Linked DNA regions of Homo sapiens: region 1 is linked to region 2. Evidence: promoter capture Hi-C in human tissues and cell types (Jung and others, 2019). All regions are on one chromosome and are shown on one strand. Each heading gives the region's core, a stretch centred on a gene start or on the middle of the fragment in contact. The rest is flanking DNA. Distances are from core to core; before and after follow the strand shown.

Evidence for each region. The method cuts DNA at HindIII sites, captures the fragments that hold promoters and counts their contacts. A contact is called where the count stands out against the background at its distance.
Region 1: a contact is called between a fragment that was not itself captured here and the fragment with the promoter of WDR49 in region 2, in 2 of the 25 tissues and cell types used here (aorta and hippocampus).

Annotation. Positions count from the first base shown.
Region 1 is chr3:167,573,171-167,577,557 of GRCh38, forward strand. WDR49 (WD repeat domain 49) reads right to left here. Exons shown (of 19, transcript NM_001366157.1): 8 at 2,748-2,981. Among named protein-coding and RNA genes, the nearest start is that of WDR49, 79 kb to the right of the region's middle. The HindIII fragment of the contact is 4,395 bases long and covers 1-4,219 here.
Region 2 is chr3:167,652,682-167,657,178 of GRCh38, forward strand. WDR49 (WD repeat domain 49) reads right to left here and starts at 1,261. Exons shown (of 19, transcript NM_001366157.1): 1 at 1,153-1,261; 2 at 580-818. The coding sequence starts at 744. RefSeq lists enhancers at 475-998, 999-1,521. The HindIII fragment of the contact is 2,457 bases long and covers 811-3,267 here.

The DNA.
Region 1 (4,387 bases), core at 772-3,271, 79 kb before region 2:
GCAATGCCAGGGAGGCACGTGCTATTCCCATTACTATTCCTACACCCCCACAGACACACACATTTTAAGAAGCTGGCAAACTAAAGCTCAGACAGGCTAAGCAGTCTGTCCAGTATTTGAATTCACATGTTTCCAACCCAGCAGTTCTGAAAACTTTTGGTCTTGGGATTCCTTTGCATTCTTAAAAAGTATTGAAGAATCCAAATAGCTTTATGTGGAATACACACACACACACACACACACACACACACACACACACAACACAAATAGATAGATCTGTATTTTTATACTTATTTACCATATTAGATATTTATAGGGAGACATTAAAACACAAGAATATAAGAGCACACATTCCCTTAGCCATAAGAACAATGCTGTTATCACACAACACACATCATGCAGCCTCTAGAAAACTCCACTGTACACTTTTGAGAGAGTGAAAGTTTAGAAAGCAAACAATAAATTAATATTATGATGAAAATAATTTTGACCTCCCAGATTCCCTGAGAGAATCTGAGTCTCCCAGAGGTCCAAGATCACACTGTGAAAAACATTGTTTTAATCTCAATTCTATGCTTTATGTTTCCAAGACCAGACAGTGATACATTCAACAAATGGCCGTCAATATGCTCCTAAGATCCCTTTACTGCTTTAACTCCCACGATGTCTGCAAAGTATTCCCAAACTTGCCACACCAAAATAAACCCTCTCTCCAAAAATGCACCGTGAGTGCTCAAGCTTCTTTGCAGGTGCTCACGTTGTATCTTCTGTCTGGAACTACTTCCTCCTCCTTTTAGAGATGTTAGCTTTCAGGGCTCTGCTGAAATGTGACCAACACTGGCCTCAGGCAGAATTGATCACTCTCCATAAAAAGCACTTCGGTTTTTACCTCTACTTCATTTTACTATGTTCTACTGTTTCTTGTTAGTAATATGTCTCCCTTCCCTTCTTTCATTCCACAATCCTGTGATGAGCACCTGTCCAACAATCATCAGCACTATGGTTAGGACCCAGATTTTCCCTTAAAGAGTTGAATCTTCCTGAGCTACTGGGGGCAAGAAACTATAGTTTATTATCTCTAATTCTTCATTCTTGGTACGACACTTGTTCAAAACTGTGTTATTTGCTTTGTCTAATTACTCTAAAATGATAAGTTATCACTGACTGATGGGAATGTGAGTGATATTTTCTTTGTACTTTTCTGCAATACATTTTTATAATTATAAATGTAACACATACAATGTTCATGTTTCTGTAACTCAGCAGCTAATAGGAAATGCTGATGTATGTGATACACAGCTCTATGTGCTTTACATACATATCAATGCTTATCATTATTTATGTTATTCACAGCAAGTAGAGGTGTAAATACTCAACTCAATTGTATAATGATACATCCTACATCATATACCATATGTACATTGTCCTTTGGTTGCCTATAAGTGGCATGCATGTGAGTTACCTTGGCTTTGTCTTTATGCCCCAAATAAATCCAGATCTTCTTTGTGTCTAATTTCCTGAATTTCTCAGGGAATATTGCTCATCTTATGGCCAGGCAACATAGGATTTTAACATCTACACACAAATTTAGCATTTTAACTTTGCAGATCTCAATTAGGAGAATGTTCTCTTGGAAGCAAATACATCTCTCAGTGGCCACCAGGGAGTCAAATTAACTGGTTGCCTTCATAAAGATCAGTAAAACATTTAGCAGGAAATGTTTTCCCGCAGATGGAATTCAAAATGAGTTGTTTTCTAAATGATTTTATCTCCTAGAATAACCAGAAAACAGTGTTTTAAATAGTGACACGACACACTACCCATTACTAACAAAGGGCTTTCCACCCCTTGCGCAAAATCTCCACTAGTCATTTCTATGTGAATGCAGAAGCTTCTGCAGAAGGGAAAAGAAAGAATGGATTGAGTTACTGTTTAATTGGCTGTAAGCTGGAGACTTGCTTCTGCTTGGCTCCTGCTGTGCTGTTACCATCAGGCCTGACGGGATCACTGCAGCAGGCTAACCTCTGATGTTGCTTGCTCCCTTCATGATACCCACAGGCTGCCCCACACTGAGCTCACTGGCTTCACTGCCTGGGCCGCCCTGTCCTCCAAGAAGGGCTGTGGTCTGCGCAGTAACTCTGCTCCAGGGGAGCCCTGCTTCTTCATTGAGATGCAGGTAGTGGTCCCCTAAGCCAAGGCTGCGGAGCGTCATTAAACTGGTGGGGAGACAAACAACACTTGTGCTGCATACCAAGTGGCATCATGTTTAACTGAATCATTTTATTATGAATACATTCTGGGCTGCCACTGTGAACCACTGGTGTAAAATATGCTGGCAAAATGGATCTCTGCTAATTATGTTTCATGCATATTTCAGAACTTTCCACAGGGATACCGGAAGATGGTGTTCATAGAATTTTACAAGCAGGTTCACTTGCATTTGGCTCAAGACTAGCAGATAACAAAGATAAGTTCAATTATATTACAGGTTGTTTTGTTTTAGCTGGAATGCTGTAATTCCTTATAACTCTATCACTGCTCCTGTGGTCACTGGCTGAAAATGAAATCATTCTCCAAGTCCACCTGAATGTATATTATTGCAGAAAAGCACATGGCTATTAAATCATTTCTTCCCATATTTGCCTTTACTATATTTGTCTTTCATTTTACCTTAAACTGAATTAAGTAAATGAGCCTCTGGACTTGGAGATATGTTAGGAGAGTGAAAGAAAAGAAAGCATCATTACCTGCTTCAAGATAGAATTGTAAAGAACACAAGTGACTGCTTTCTCATGGCTTTTCACCCTCTTGCTGGCTTCACTTTTCATTGCCAACAATGCTAGCTGGTTATTAAACGAGATGAAAAGTCGTCCATGGGCTTCATCAAAGTGGAAGAGACATCTGAAGTCCTGACTTTTGGGGAAAGAACAAGCTATCCTCTGGATGGACAGCTGGTGTTGAATATCCCAGAGTCTCAAAACCTGGATGAAAAGTGATAAAATCATTTCAATATGTCAAAGATAATTGTAATCTTTTAGCCAATTTTTTTTCTAGCTCACCCTCAATACCAGGCAGACAGTTGTTTCCTCCACAGTGCTATAATTGGTTCTCAATTCTGCCATAGCACCTATTATTTTGTATTTCAGTCACCTGTTTAAATATCTCCTAAATTGTAAGCTCCTCTAGGAAAGGGGTTGGGTTCTATTTCAGTCCCTGGTATAAGGCTTGGCATTTAGTAAGTGTTTGTTGTAGGCAGAATAGTAGTCCCCCAAAGATGTCCATGTCCTAATTCCCAGAACCTGTGAATATGTTATCTTAGGTGGCAAAAGAGATTCTGCAGATATGACTAAATTAGGGACTTTGAGATGGTGAGATTGTCCTGGATTATTTGGGTGAGTCCAATCATAAGGGTCTTTAAATGTGAAAGAGGGAGGCAGAAAAATGATCAGAGTGGTGCAATATGAGGACTCTTCCTAGTCTTGCTGGCTTTGAAGAGGGCCATGATCCAAGGAAGCTTGAAAAGACAAAGGAATGGTTTCTCCCCCAGAGCCACCAGAAAGGATGAGACTCATGTCAAATTCCAACCTACAGAACACAAAATAAATTTGTGCTGTTTCAAGCTACTAAGTTTGTGCTCATGTATTACACTAGCAATAGAAAACTAATACAGTTCTCTCTCCGTCTGTCTATATATACATGTGTGTATACATATATATGTATATATGTGTGTGTAGATACATGTATCTATATATGTGTGGATAGATATATATGTATACATATGTATGTATGTGTATATATGTATATATGTATTTTTGGTAAAATAAAAGAAGTGGCATTAAATGAGGTCAAGTTCATATAACCACAGATATTAAATTCTTATTCAAACACCTTCAAGACACATAAATGACATGCATTTACCAATGGATAGTAGAGGGCAAACACTAAATCCTTGCTCAAGAAATAGGTTGCTTTAGATTCAATAGACATTAAAAAATTGTTTTTCCTTTTCTTCTATTTTCTCATGGCTCCCTTCATTTCAAAGAGGGTGAGTCACACTAAGTGTCCCAGGAAGAAAACAGAAAGATGAGCTTCACAGGTGTGAGTGTTGGTGCTATCAGTAGTGGTACAGAATTAACAGGCTACTGAGGGAGTGAAAAACCTCTCCAAAAGGGGGTATCAGGCAAGTCATCAAGACCTTGTTTACTTTTAAAAAACATGTAGAATGTATCTGTTGTACAAAATCAAAAATCACCACAGGGCTTTTATCTTAACCCTATCTCTGTAACCTAGGGTCAGATTTCCTGGGTTCTAATCTCAGTTCTGTTCCTTACTAACAGGGGGACCTCCAATAAGTTTTTTTTTTAATCTGAGTTTTTAATGTAGTGTC
Region 2 (4,497 bases), core at 11-2,510:
AAATTCTAATTTTGTTTTTATTGGCATTGTTCCAGGATTTACAAAATGAGTGGGAGACTCGTCCCTCATAAGGGATCTTGGGACAACAAAGTGCCAGAATCAGCTTAGAAAAGGAGCTGTGCCACTTAGGGTGAGTGAGACAGGAGGAAATTTTTTGCAAACTGGGTATGCATATTTGCATTTGCTGAGTTCTATGTCCGTATTAAATGCAAGAACAATTATTCCTGGAGGTCACCTTAGAGATCTGGCTTTCTTCACTCACAGCCATAATTTTTTGTTTCCCCAAAATATGTTGATCTCTAAGAAAAAAATTTTTTCCAACAATAAATAGTTCTTTCTTGATAGTAATGAAATTCAGTGAAGCAATTTCAAACTAAAGAATATTATTTGGCCCAAAGAACTGAGGGGCAAAGCTACCAAGCACATTGTGTTAAATCCAGGCCTAACCAATTATTTTTAATTCTCTGCTATAACAATTAAGTGTATTTTTTTAATGCTTAAAGAAAAATATCTCTGTGTTTCATTCTAGGCTCCTTCATGAACAACTCAAACTATCTGGTCAATAAGCTTCACACTTACCTCAAAGGCCTTCTGTATTTTTACAAAGTCACCCACGCTGAGTTGGTTTTCAAGCAGGCCTGTGCCATAGTCTTCAAATGCAGTTACACCTTCTGTTCTCTCAGGACTCTTTGGCCCAAGCTGTGACCCTATGTTTAACTCAAGTACAGCTTTCTGGCAACTCATAATGGCTTCACCTTTTCTCAGTTGCCTTCAACTATTTCTATAAGGATGGATCTTCTTTTTCCTTCAACAGGTGCCTTTGAAAAGAAACTCAACTTAGCAACAGAATTCCAAAATGAAAGTACAAACCTTTCAAGGCATACGATCAGGAGGCAAAATGTTCAAGCTGAGGTAGGAAATGAAAGCCCTCAACCCTCTCACTTATTTGATTCTAGAGTTTATTTTCAAAATTTACAGTTGAATGCTTTTAAAATGGTATTTTTACCCCTTCCTTATACTCTGTTTAACCTGGCTTGATTAAAAATGTGTAAAGCTTTCCCCACATTTATAGTAACTGACACAGAAAACAACTTCCAATCCTCATTTTAAATGCATTAGAAAAGCACCTTCCCAAAAATCTCTTTAACTAACCTTGCTTCCATTAACATGTTGTAGTTTTCAATTCCACTTTCTTGTCTGGAAGAGTTAGATGACAAAGCTGCAGAGTTTCCCTACCAATGAAGTACTTGACTCTGAATGCCACCTTCCCAGCAATGTGGAGTTGTTTGTTTCATCTGTTCTGATCCTTTTGTATGTTTCCTGGCAACCAACACAAAGCCAACTAAAACTTTCCCTTTCACTTCCCCCTCTCCAACTGAAAGTTTAAATATATAATGTAAATGTTGAAATGGTTTTTTTTGAAATAAAAGGACAGTTCATTCCACTCATTTTTTATTAAACGACATCTTGTATTATTTAAAGACAACTTTTACCATTATATAGGATATATATTATGAAACTATATGATTAGTCAAAGAGAAAAGCATGAAATTCTGGAATTTTATGTTTTATACACAGAAAATGTTTTATTTTTATATAAAAGGAATCTGTTTCTTATATTCTTTTTGTCTTAGTTTCTATGTATATAAAATAGAGATGGTTCAAAAAAGCTTCCAACTTGTTGAAAATGTGATAAAAAAACACAGCATAACATAATATGATAAATCTAATGATAAAATTGCTTGCAGTGTCATTACTGGTTCAGCTAATAATAATGAAAAGGAGGAGAAAAAGAAGAAAAATTAACATTTTTTGAGTATTAACCATGTGCCAGGCACTAAAACTTTATGTTCATTGTCTTGTTTAAGCTTCACAACAATCCTACAAGGCAGATGTGATCATTATCCCCATTTTACTGATAAAGAAGCAAAAAGCCGGGCAAGGTGGCTCACGCCTGTAATCCCTGCACTTTGGGAGGCTGAGGCAGGTGGATGGCTTCAGCTCAGGAGTTCGAGAGCAGCCTGGGCAACATGACGAGACATTGTATCTAGTAAAAATACAAAAATAATCAGCCGAGCATGGTGGCGCACACCTGTGATCCCAGCTACTCGGGAGGCTGAGTTAGAAGGATCCCTTGAACCTGGGGGGCAGAGGTTGCAGTGAGCCAAGATTGTGCCACTGCACTCCAGCCTGGGCAACAGAATGAGACCCTGTCTCAAAAAAGAAAAAAAAAAAAAGCAAAGAAAATGCCAAAGGTCACACAAATAGTAACATACGGAAGAGAACAGAATGGCTCCCAAACTTCAGATACTGCATGTATTAGTCTGTTTTCACACTGCTAATGAAGACATACCTGAGACTGGGTAATTTATAAAGGAAAGAGGTTTAATTGACTCATAATTTCACATGGCTGGGGAGGCCTCAAAATCATGACAGAAAGCTAATGAGGGCAAAGTCATGACTTACATGGCAGTAGGCAAGACAGCATGTGCAGGGTAACTCCCATTTATAAAACCATCAGATCTCATGAGACTTATTCACTACCAGGAGAACAGTATGGGGAAACCGCCCCCTTGAGTCAATTATCTCCACCTGGCCACGCCCTTGTCATGTGAGGATTATTACAATTCAAGGTGAGATTTGGGTGGGGACACTGCCCAACTGTATCACTGCACTTTAGATGGATGTGCCCGTTGCACTTTATTTTCACTTCTGTAAACTAAAAAGTTGGCATTACATCTTCTCTAGGGTCTCTTCCGGCTCTAACATTCTCTGAGCTGGTGTTCACTAGAGGCATGGTACAGAACAGAGAGAAGAGCATCCTGTAGGAGTTCCTGTACCCATTATAGAAAAAAATGAAGTTTCATTCATGCTTTCATTTTTTCATCCATCTCTCATTATTCTTTCAAAAAAAACATTTATTAAGAGCCTAATAGGCAGGGCACGGTGGCTCATGCCTGTAATTCCATATTTTGGGAAGCCAAGACAGGCAGATCACTTGAGGTCAGGAGTTCAAGACCAGCCTGGCCAACATGGAGGAACCCCGTCTCTACTAAAAATATAAAAATTAGCTGGGCATGGTGGCAGGCGCCTGTAATCCCAGCTACTTGGGAGGCTGAGGCAGGAGAATCGCTTGAACCTGGGAGGCGGAGGTTGCAGTGAGCCAAGATCACGCCACTGCCCTCCAGCCTGAGTGACAGAGATAGACACTGTCTCTCTCTCTCTCTCTATCTCTCTCTCTCTCTATATATATATATGCCTAATATATGTCAAGTCCTGAATTGTGACCTGGTGCCTGCCATAAGGGCTTTACAGTCTAGTCAGGGCAATTATCCGTCTAGCTCATCTTTAATGCCAATTCCAACCTCTTGTGTTCAGTGTTCCAACACAGTGCTGTGTTCAGAGCATTCTGAAGCCATAGCTAGGCTCAAAGGGAAAGAGTGGCATTATAGATGTGTATATATGTATTGATATGTATCACACACACAGAACGGGGGTGTATTTACCAGATTTGCTTTTCTTCGATAAGTCCTTCTTGTAAGTTAGGAAAACATTTTTAAGCCCTAATACTACAAGTTCCCCTAAGTTATCTTACATGGGAACACGATTTGTCTTCTTATCACCCTAGTTAGTAAGTTAATAATACTTTAAATCAGCTGGATCAGCCCCATAAATGTTTGTAAAATGTTTTATAGTGATATTCTAGAGAGTTGGGCTTAGTTCAGTAGCAGACACTAATGAGGGAAGGGAGAAGAAATAGGAAAAACATTCTGTAAAGATGAACCACGAGAGGTAGGTATCCCACTGGCTGACAATGCAAAATTCTCTAATTATTCTAAGACAGACAAGATGCCTGGCCTACTTAGCTTCCATAAAGTTGCAGCCCTAAATGTTTTCATTAGTCAAAACAGGAAAGTATAATGAGCAGCTAACAAATTACAGTAGAAGTTAATCAATTGACACAGTTTTCTTGCTATAAAATTATGACATTAGAAATAATTCTTGATCATAAAGGCTTAAATGGCTCTAACCTTCTCTGTAACTGTGTGGTTAATTTTCAGGTTAAATTCCTGCGGCACTGTAAAATCCATAACTAGTGTCTTGACTGGTGAAATTTTCCCTCTTGCTTGCCATGAATCAAGTATGATATTGTGAAAATCAAGATGGTGACAGTTTAATCACCTTTAGAAGGCCAAAAAGCAGATTGACACTTGCCCCCTTCTCCTGTAGGGATCAGACAACACCTGCCAGCATAGTGGAGCCCTAAGCACCAAGAGGGCAGAGTAAGCTGATACATCCATTGGCCTTTGACACTTTGGGACTGAATAATTCTCCCCACCGAATAGACACACCCATCTGTGTCTTTATCACAATTCACAGTCCACACCCAAATCCCTGCTCTCTCCTTCCCCCACAATTTATTGCCACTGACATAAATATAGACCTTCCTTTTATATTATTTAAGGACTACTTTTTACCATTATATTTTCTACAAAG